Linked DNA regions of Homo sapiens: all the other regions are linked to region 1. Evidence: promoter capture Hi-C in 16 types of primary human blood cells and fetal thymus (Javierre and others, 2016). All regions are on one chromosome and are shown on one strand. Each heading gives the region's core, a stretch centred on a gene start or on the middle of the fragment in contact. The rest is flanking DNA. Distances are from core to core; before and after follow the strand shown.

Region 1 (3,453 bases), core at 484-2,983:
CAACAAAAAGATTTTTTATTGCCAAGGATACAAAATAATGTGAACAAAAGGATCCCAAGAAAAAGACTGGGAGTCTTTATACCAACGTGTTAGCAGTGGGTAGTTAACTCTGGATGGTGTAATTACAGGTAGTTTTAAGGTTCTTTTCATTTTTTTTGTTTGATTTTTACATTTTCCATAGCTTCCAAATGTCCTGTGAGATAAAATATTACACTTAAGATTTAAAAAAAGATTACTTTCATGTTGCCATTCTTCATGCTTATTTTAAATGCTACACAATAACCTATGGTGTTGATAAATCTTCACTCTCATTGAAAAAGGATCAAGTAATACAGAAATATATAGAATTAAATATATAACCTACACACACTACACACACACACACACACACACACAAAGTACTTATCAGTTTAGATGGGAGTCCTAACCCATTTTCTCTGCATTTACATACTTATATGTTCACCTTCACACATATTGCTTATTTTTCAAAAACATACTTTAGATCATCACAGTTATATACTGTTCAGCAACCTGCATTGTTTTTTAACTCAATTTCCGTATTTCACAATAGTCTTAACAATCTTTCAATACAACACATATAGAACTACCTCATTCTGGCATAGTATTCTAAATTGTGGCTATATTATCATTTACTTAATCATATTCTATTTATGAACCATTTATTTAGTAAAAGTTTATATTTCCATTTTATTAATATTTAAAAGTTTTTCTTTGTAAATATTTTTTTTTTGCTGAATTATTCCTTTAGAATAATCAGAGAATTACTGGTTCAAGGATTTGCTGGTTGATATGTACTGTCAAATTGCTTTCCAAAAGCACCATGCCAATTCACACCCCCACTAATTGACAGTAACCCTTTATCACAGCTAAGCCAGCAGGGTTTTTGTTTTTAACCTGTGAGCAAAATAACCTTACTAGTTTGATTGCTTATGAAGAGATTGAAATTTTTCTTTCTAACCCCCTTTGAATGTTTTATTGGAAAAGGGTGCGAAATCTTATTCAATCCCCTGTTGCTGCTATTGAAGTGATCATACTCTTTTCCCCATGTCAACTTACTGGCCACTTACTGTATACACTGAATTTATTAAGTAATGCAATACTTTCATTCCTGTGACAAACCTTAATTCTGGAGGACTATTCTTTCCATCACTATCCGAATTCAATCTGGTATGAAGGTCCTTAAGACTAGTTCCACCTTGTGTATAAGACTGCCTACAGTGAGTACTCTCATCAGACTTCTGATCAGATTCTGACGGACCTCCGGTCCCAGACGGCACAGGGCCCTCTATCAAAGGCTCCCTTTCAACGTCCTTTCTCTATTTCCAAACGTGGCAATCCATTCTTTCCACGTATAGGCTCCTCGCGGCCCTGTCCCTGGGACCTATCTGGCCCCTTGGCCGGTCCGTGTGCATCCTCTCCCGGACCAGGCCCCAGGTGGGCAGCAGCCGGGATTCCGAGGCGGTGGGGAACTCACTGCCCCCCGCACCCCGACAGACAAGGCTGGTGTCCCCGGGGAAAGGACGCAGGGGCCGCTCCTAGGGCCATGGCCCCTGGGAGAGCCCCTTTTTCTCCCTCGACGTTCGTGCCCACCCCCTCCGACCCCACTCACTGTGCGCAGCTGAGAAGCCCGACCTGAGTTCACTGGCTCTGCAGCAGGAGGCTGGCTGACCGGTACTTCAGCTTCTACCGGCACGAGAACAATGACCGGACAGGAAGTGCCTCGGGATGGGCTTCCGGCTCCCCAAGTCGCCAAGCCGGCCTCTCTAGGAACCTCGGAGGTGCTTTCCTCTCGATGGGTGTCCAATGTCGCCCCAGACCAGGGATGGGGCAGAAGCGCTTAGGAGGATTGTGCTGTTGGAAGCTCTAAGTGAGCCTCAGGGAGGGGCGCATCCCAAGCAGGGATGAGACACTCAGGCGAGGCGCGCACCCAAGAGCCTGAAGCTACACAGCATTAATCTGTAGAAAGCCCTGATAATTTCCCCTCAAATGTTTTATTTTGAAAATATCAGAGTACAGAAGAGTTGAAAGTATGGCACATTGAATACCCGTATTTTCCATGTGGACTCAACAATGAACATTTTGCTATGTTTGCCTGATCTCTCAATACATATTTAAAATCATTTTTTTGAAAGTTGTAAACATCAGAACACTTCATTCCAAATACTTCAACATGCATCCCTTAAGATTAAGAATATTCTTCAAACTACCACCACCGTCACAGGTAAGAAAATCAACAAAAATTCCCTAATACCATCTAATAACCAGTCATATTCAAATTTCCCAACTGTCCTAAAACATGTATTTTATAACTTTTTTTCAAATCAGTTTCACACACTTTAGTTGGTTACAGCTCTTTAGTTTTGGGTTTTCGTTGCCATTGTTGGTTTTTACTTTTTATTTTGAAATGATAGAATCACAGGAAGTTGCAAAGATAGCACCCTTCACCCACTTTCCCCTCATGGTTACATCTTACATAAAATGAAAAAGGAAATCAACATTGGTACAGTATGTGTGTATAGGTATAGCACCTATAGATTTGTGTAACCACCACTGCAATCAAGATACACAAGTGTTCCATCACCACAAAGACCTTTCTGGTGCTACCTTTTAATAGTTCCATCCAACCCTCTCCCCATTTTTCCTCCCACCATCCCTAACCTTTGGCAACCATTAATCCATTTTTCATCTCTATAGTTTTATCATTTTGAGAATGTTATATGAATATTTTCATACAGAATATGGCCTTTTGTGATTATTTTCACTCAGCATTAATTCCCTTGAAATTTATTTGAGTTGTTATGGATATCAATAAGTCAATTTTATTGCAGAGTAACAAGTATTCCATGGTAATACATAAACCACAATTTGTTTTAACCACCTAAGGAAGGATATATGGGTTGCCTACAGGTTTCGACCATTACAAATAAAGCTGCTATGAACATTCGTATACAGGTTTTTGTGTGAACGCAAGTTTTCATTTCTCTGGGATAAATGCTCAGAAGTGCAATTCCTGAAGCATGACATATACATGTGTGGTTTTACAAGAAACTGCCAAATTATATTCCAGAGTGGCTGTACCATTTTACATTCCCAGCAATGTATGAGATCCTGTTTCTCTTCATCCTTGCCAGCAGTTACCACCATTAAAAAAAAAAAGTTAAGCTATTCTGATAGGTGATATCTCACGATTTTACTCTGCATTTCCCTCATGCCTAATGATGTTGAACATCTTTTCATTTGCTTATTTGCTATCTATACTTCAGTGAAATGTCTGTCTTTTGCTTATTTTCTAATTGTATTTACTTATTACTGTTAAATTTGGAAAGTTCTTTATGTAGTTTACATACAAATCCCTTGTTGGATATGATTTGCAAATATTTTTTCCCAACCTGTAATATCATCTTTGTAAAAAGGTCTCTTACAGGGTAAATT
Region 2 (3,453 bases), core at 595-3,094, 330 kb after region 1:
AAAGAAGCTTGACAAAAATTTCAGAGGATGCATTAAGACCTCTGTATTTGATTCCCACATGTAACTGTGTATCTGTAGTGTCTTGAATAATTTCTCAATTCTGTTTGTATTATATCTACAGTTCAGACCTTAGCCTTATATATCCCTTGACTAAAAACAAATCATCCCCTAATAAATATTTACTGCCAAATTTAAAACAATCCTTTAATGGATTTTCTATTCCTTCAGTTATTCTTAGAAGAAAGAGAAGTCATCTTAGAGACTTCTCTTTTATTCCCTATATTCAGTCAGTTGGGTCTGTGAGCTAGACTGTAGTTCCTTACTGCTTTAGAATCTTTTAGTTATCCAGGACTTATCAGGAAATTAATCTCTCTACTTTTAGTCTTTTCCTAAACACTACTGCCAGAGGAACTTTCCTGAAACACCAATTTCATTATATCACTCCCTAGACCCAAAACTCTAGTGATCCCTTTTTATACACAGAGAAGAAAATTCCTTTAGCCTGACATTTAGGGTCTTCCAAAATCTGGCACAACTATCTGTCCAATCTCCCTATTACTACTTTGTTTCATTACCAACTAATTGTATATTAAGAGATTGCTAGATAGCAGCCATTGGGCCAGGAATACCAAGGTAAAGAAAATAGTACCATCCTGATTGAGCTCACTTTGTATAAGGAGAAACAGATAAGAATGCTCATTACAATACAGGAGCACAGTGGAATTAAGTGGAAAAATGAAAATTTATAGATAGTACGATGAAAGTACTGAGGGGAGGCCCTCAGGTTAACGTTTTCGTCATCCTCTGAACCTATCACATAGCTCATTCTTGACCCAAAGCTTTTGCTCATGGACACCCAACATTCAAGAGTACTGACTACCATTTCCCACATTGGCGTTTGAACTTGGCATCTGTTTCACTTCCTCCATTTCTTTCAAGTTTACCTGTGTTCCTAGGTAATGTAAACTAAGTTCTGTATTTATTCAGTGATAAGAGAAAAAGCTTGCTCAGGGCATTTAAACATATTGTTTGCTGATGACTTGACAGAAGTAGGGAAAAGGGAATGATAAAAATGCTTGTCTTAGGAACTGCTGACAAACAACCCAAAGATAAGCATCTCAGATTTTTTTAAACCATCAGGAAAGTATATTCAATTTGCAGAGAACATATTTTACAGAAAACTACTTCATTAAAAAATATGCTGGAATATAAAACTCAATCAAAACAGGTGGATAACTATTTCTTATTAACAGTTAAACACCAGATGGGCAAGAGATAATTAAGATAGACTTTTAAAAAACATACCTTGGGAATTTTGAAAACCTGGTAGATTCTGCAAAACTTCAAATGTCTGTCTATAAAGGCTCTTGGCTAAGATTTCATGTGCAATTGTACAGAGTAAATTATGTCGATTAAGCACATCCAGTCTATCACAAGGCCACAGAGGCGTATTGATTATCCACTCTGACTCTTCCAAAAAGAAAAAAATATGAATAGTTTATACCATGAAAATGACACTTAACAGTATAATCACAACTAATGTTTCAATATATCTTTTGAAGAAACAGGCAAAACTTAAACATATGTACTCAGAGAAGATAACCATGGCTCAAATTTATTAGAAATAACTTATATAGTGATGATCATCATCTGAAGAAGATGCAAACAAATGGCCACTTTGTTATATTTATTTTTAATTAATTCTTCATCTAAGTGTACTAGTCAATTACTAATTTTAAATGTTTATTTTTATATAAAAAAGTTCAGATTATCACAAATATTTGCTTTAACATAAAATATTATTTATGTGGACAAGTTTAACAATTTCACAATAAATAATTTAATTAGTTTTTGGTATTACTGGGGAATAGCTTTTCTTTTCTTTTCTTTTTTTGAGATGGAGTCTCACTCTGTCACCCAGGCTGGAGTGCAGTGCAGTGGCGCAATCTTGGCTCACTGCAACCTCCGCCTCCCGGGTTCAAGTGATTCTCCTGCCTCAGCCTCCTGAGTAGCTGGGACTACAGGCGCGTGCCACCACACCTGGCTAAATTTTTTGTATGTTAAGTAGAGACGGAGTTTCGCTGTGTCAGCCAGGACAGTCTCGATCTCTTGACCTTGTGATTGGCCCACCTTGGCCTCCCAAAGTGCTGGGATTACAGGCATGAGCCACTGCGCCCGACCAGCGAATAGCTTTTCTTAACACTTTCTATTTTAAAAACAATTTCTATTATGAAATCGTTGTTGTATACAGAAGAATAATATATGTTATAAAAGCATAATAATAAAATTAACTCCTGTGTACCCATCACACCCACCTACGACCCTCAAACCAACAGACCTCAGACCCTCTTTAAAAAAAGAGAATATTACCTATAATGCTGAAGTTCCTTAATTTCTGCTCTGATTTTCACATTGAGAAAAACAATGGGAGACTGTAGTACAGAACACTGAGGTACTAAAATGTTAGAAATGTCAATATTTTATCATTTACCTAATTTACTCAATCATTATACACATAGTGAAACATTACTATATGTAACATTCAAATCATATTTTGGTGCTCTTTTTCAACTGAACTAAATGTAGAAGTAATCCTTTTATTTTGTGGCCTTCCTAGCACAGTGAATATAAAAAGTATTGAAGAAAAAGTTGATAATTCAAATATATCATGACAAAAGAAAGCTTTTAGTATCCAGTATAAAGCTTTAAAAAGGAGCTTTTCAATTACTAGAGCCCATGTGATTGACTGATTGACCTAACAGAGTTATACTATGTGTTAGGAATGTTCTAAGTGCTTTAAGAATATTAACTCATTTAGACAGATACTTTCATTAATTTGCTTCTACATTTGCTGACATTTTAATATAGAGAGAAATGTAAATGAATTTAATATCTTCAAAGACTGTATGATCATCTGTTAAACATAATTCCCATTAAAAGTAAAACTGTTCGTTCACCATTCCTTATAAAGTGAATTTTACTTTGATTGAATAAGTTCAATTATTTTTTATCTGTTAGATATATCCCATGTACAAAAAGTAGATTATATAAACCTTTTCTCATAAAAATTGCATCATTTTTCTTTAATACTTATTCTTTATATTTAAGGTAGGGTAATGGTCACATTTTTTGGAAAGTATATATGGTATTTTAGGAGATTCATTTAAAATTTTTATCAAACTGTTTAGGTATATAAAAAAATCTGACCTAGCATGCTCTCTCCCCACATCATCTCCCTGTCTGGGTTTTTGTTTTTTTCTGTGTTGCCATCTTTTTTAAAAACCTGTTCAGTGTTGCCAATCAACCAACGGTCTGTGAGGGGCAGCATGGGATCAGGCAGCAGGGTTCTTCCCCGCCTTGCCTTGGTTCCTTTGCAGGATTGAGCCACCTGGCCGTGGGGGAAGGGGTCAAGCTATATCCCAATACGTGTAGGGTAATGGTCCCTGGTGGCAC
Region 3 (3,453 bases), core at 402-2,901, 310 kb after region 1:
AAAATGTTTATTTAATGTGAATCAGCTTATATGCAATTGGTCAATAGGGGAAAGACTTATATATGCACTTTACCCCCAACATATTACTGATTTGAAGTGATCAGAGGTAGGCTTTCTACAATTTAAAAAAAAAAAAAAGGCTTTAGTGATATGTAAAGACCTTAAGGAAAAAAAATCTCCTGGTATTTCTTTCTTTTGGTTTAAGAAGCAGATGTTTAGTGGGTTCAAGTCTGGCTACATTTTCCACTTCATCAAACCATCTGGCAATGTGCTAGGATAAACGAAAAAGCTAGAGATTTCCAAGTCTTTTAAAAAAAAATTTGATTGATAAATAAAGCTACTCCTAGATTAGAATGTTAATCTTGATGAAACTGGTCTAAACTAGATTTAATTTTACTACCATGTTTATTAGGGTTAGGGTTTTTGTTAGGGCTCTTATAAAATTTTGTTCAGTTTTGAGTGGTGTGTGCTTTTTCTCCACAAACTGTTACTTTTGCTTATTGTTTGGCAGCATGTCAGGATTTCCAGGAATGCAAGAATGGCATTACAGCAGAAACATGTGGATATATATAAACATTCTGTCCCCACTCCAAACTGCCTTTTAATTCTGAATCTTAAGTTTTCATTAACTGAGAGAATACTTTGAGCTAACACAATGCTAATCTGCTAGACAGGAGTACAATTTAGTAAATGAAATTAGTGAATATTTTATTGAATTTTGTCTTTATTTTATAAAAAAGAAAAATTACAATTCTAATACTAGTAATAAAGAATACGAAATGAAATACAAATGAGAAAACGTTATCTATATTGATATTTGGTCTGTATCTGATGCTCACTGAAGTTATCTGGACAGCACATTTAAGATAAAATGGTGGAAAGACACAGACAAAATGCTAGAAATATTCAATAAGACTTTTCTAAAAGGTGAAATCTAATTTAGAACCTAATAATGATGTTTAAGCACTGTGGATGTGGAATCCCACATCTGACTTTGTGTATGTGTTTTCAGGGGTACATCACTTATGAAAGTAGGGGCTATCTTTTTCATAGAACTTTTGTGAAGCTTAAGTAGAATATGCATAAGGGATTTAGCCACATTTAGTAAATAAAAAATTCATTACAGTTGCAACTATTATTATGTCAGAGTGTATTAAAAAATGGCATAATTTTTTTCCATCTAATGTCAGATAACATATTGCTCAAACATGCAGTTCAATACAACATTTTATTCAAAAACAAATTTTGAAAAACTTTGTTGAAAAACTCAGAATTATCACAATAAGGAGTCAATGTCTGAAGGTCTTAAACACAAGGTAGTAGGCAATTTTGCCAAGGCTACATACAATTCAAAAAGTACAGATGAATAATTTCACAAATTTTTCTCTAGAAAAATACTTTTAATTCATCAGAATTAAAAAATAGCTAGTTGTTTACTTTTACCATTTGAAGACAAAGGTGGCACTTGCTAACCAATAAAAACACAAGTTTTGATGGAAGTAGCATTTCTCTCTTCAAAATAAAAACCTAAAGTGAATATAATAAAGTTATATTGTGCTGTGGGAATTGTCTTTTTATGAATTAATACTGACTTTTTAAAGACAGTGTTCTGGGTCATGGAGAAACAATGAGAGAGCAATAGGGGAGAAATGAGAGGGAATGTGACTTTTCCTTTTTCCAATAATTCTCCTCTCTCCCACAATGGCAGCCAATTCATATTTCTAGAGGAAAATGCCTATATATATAAAAATATATTCAGTTAATAATTCTGCTATCCATTCAACAAAATTATTGCTCTAAGATGATCACTTCCTATACAAATCATTGGAAAAAATTAAAAATATATTTTCTCGTTCTGTTTAAGAATAAGAATGAAAAACCGAGTACTATGAGTCTTTTGAGTATTTCCTGTAAGCTCTTCAAGAATGGGCTCTGACGACTAAGTGACAGATGAGGATCCAGTTTTGGAAAAGAAGAAAGGGACAGGGTAGGAAGGAGAGAAAGAAATAACTCTTAGGGCAGTGGTTTTCAAAGCAGCAACAGCATCCGTGAGAAATGCAAATTATCAGGTCCCATCCGAGTCCTGCAGAATCAGAATCTGGGTGGGATGGAGGAATCTGTTTTAACACACTGTCAGGGATTCTGATGCACACTCAGGTTTGAGAACCACTGTATTAGGGAATCCTGATTCTATCACCAAAGAGGATTCTGGGGCATCTGTTAATGTTTAAGCTTTAATTCTTTAAAAATAATTATTTAATACAAACTTGGATCTTTAGCTACCCAATTTATGCTAAAAATCAAAGGAGGATTTCAAGTTTTTGCTTGAATTAGTTCTTTGTTTCCTGTATGGTTTATGTACTTTTCAGATTAAAAAAACCAAAATTCTAAGTAGAGACAATGTCCAGCAGGTTGGCAGGCATGGCTGCCTGCCGCTTCACAACGCCCAGATCTTGGGTTAGTCTTCAACCTTGTAAGAACAGAACCCAATTTTATCACTTCAAGACAGAAATACGTGGGCCTTGGGGAAGCTAAATTAGAAGGCCTGATAACTGGAATGTCAATCTGTAAATTTACTTTGAGATTATAACTGCTAAGACAACTAGAAGATTCAGATCTAATGTTCTTCCTCTTTCAGGACTAGCTACACAGAAAATCAAATTACTATCAGCTGACTGAAGACACATTGCTTCAGAGTAGAGTTGGGTGCTCTCATTCAGACACTAGCTCCAAAAGTCTGGGACATCCACATCAACCGCAGGCTTCTCGTCTTCAGATAAATTCTTACATAGGTGGTTCCTGTCCATACTGCACTTAGCCCACTATACTTCCACTTGGAAAATGCTATAAAATAACTGAAGAGGTTGCACTGTCTTATCACACTTGGGAGGCATACCGAGTCTTTAACTCACCCATTCATCACCACTTATGGGCCAGGTCCTGCGTAAAGCATTGGGACTAGAAAATTATTAAGACAATTCTAATACTCAAAAGACTTTTAGAGGGAGGGGGGAGTGTAAAAACAGACACAAGCAGATAAGTATAAAACAACGCAGTAAATGCAATAATACAAACATGCACAGAATATGAGAAACTCCCAGACGCAACACTTGGAATGGGGCGGGGAGAGCTCAGGAAGGTCTTCTCTAAGGAAATGGTGCCTTTCCTGGAAGAGGGCAGAGGACCGGGAAGGATAAAATTTATTTACAAACCATTGTAAATGACTACTTTAATCTACTTAACAGTGATATTAGTTTCTGTTTCATAAAGTGAAAATTTCTAATTTTACCTAAAATCTGTTCTAAGTGAGGCATTAAATCTGTGCAGTTTCAAACCAAATTTGGTGGAAAGATACCTAAATCAGTGAAAAATCCAAATTATGGAAGAGTACACGAAAAACGGTTTTGTTTTGCTTACTTTCAACTAACACCGAGTGTGTGCCAAATAGAGCTC

Evidence for each region. Contacts are between HindIII fragments. The CHiCAGO score rates a contact against its expected background, and 5 or more counts as called.
Region 2: a fragment that was not itself captured here is called in contact with the fragment with the promoter of ZNF35 in region 1 in 3 of 17 cell types (megakaryocytes, monocytes and naive B cells); the score reaches 6.8 in megakaryocytes.
Region 3: a contact is called between a fragment that was not itself captured here and the fragment with the promoter of ZNF35 in region 1, in 1 of 17 cell types (monocytes). The highest score is 5.2, in monocytes.

The regions. Positions count from the first base shown.
Region 1 is chr3:44,647,012-44,650,464 of GRCh38, reverse strand. ZNF35 (zinc finger protein 35) reads right to left here and starts at 1,733. Exons shown (of 4, transcript NM_003420.4): 1 at 1,631-1,733. It overlaps ZNF660-ZNF197 (ZNF660-ZNF197 readthrough), which reads right to left. Exons shown (of 8, transcript NR_147692.2): 8 at 1,994-3,453. It overlaps ZNF197 (zinc finger protein 197), which reads right to left. Exons shown (of 6, transcript NM_006991.5): 6 at 1,994-3,453. All of the region lies in intron 2 of ZKSCAN7-AS1 (ZKSCAN7 ZNF cluster antisense RNA 1), which reads left to right. RefSeq lists enhancers at 1,251-1,360, 1,441-1,610, 1,489-2,048. The HindIII fragment of the contact is 4,515 bases long and covers 1-3,453 here.
Region 2 is chr3:44,319,044-44,322,496 of GRCh38, reverse strand. TOPAZ1 (testis and ovary specific TOPAZ 1) reads right to left here. Exons shown (of 20, transcript NM_001145030.2): 17 at 1,306-1,470. Among named protein-coding and RNA genes, the nearest start is that of TCAIM, 18 kb to the left of the region's middle. The HindIII fragment of the contact is 1,680 bases long and covers 1,005-2,684 here.
Region 3 is chr3:44,339,400-44,342,852 of GRCh38, reverse strand. The region is part of intron 1 of TCAIM (T cell activation inhibitor, mitochondrial); the gene reads right to left. Among named protein-coding and RNA genes, the nearest start is that of TCAIM, 2.4 kb to the right of the region's middle. The HindIII fragment of the contact is 1,166 bases long and covers 1,069-2,234 here.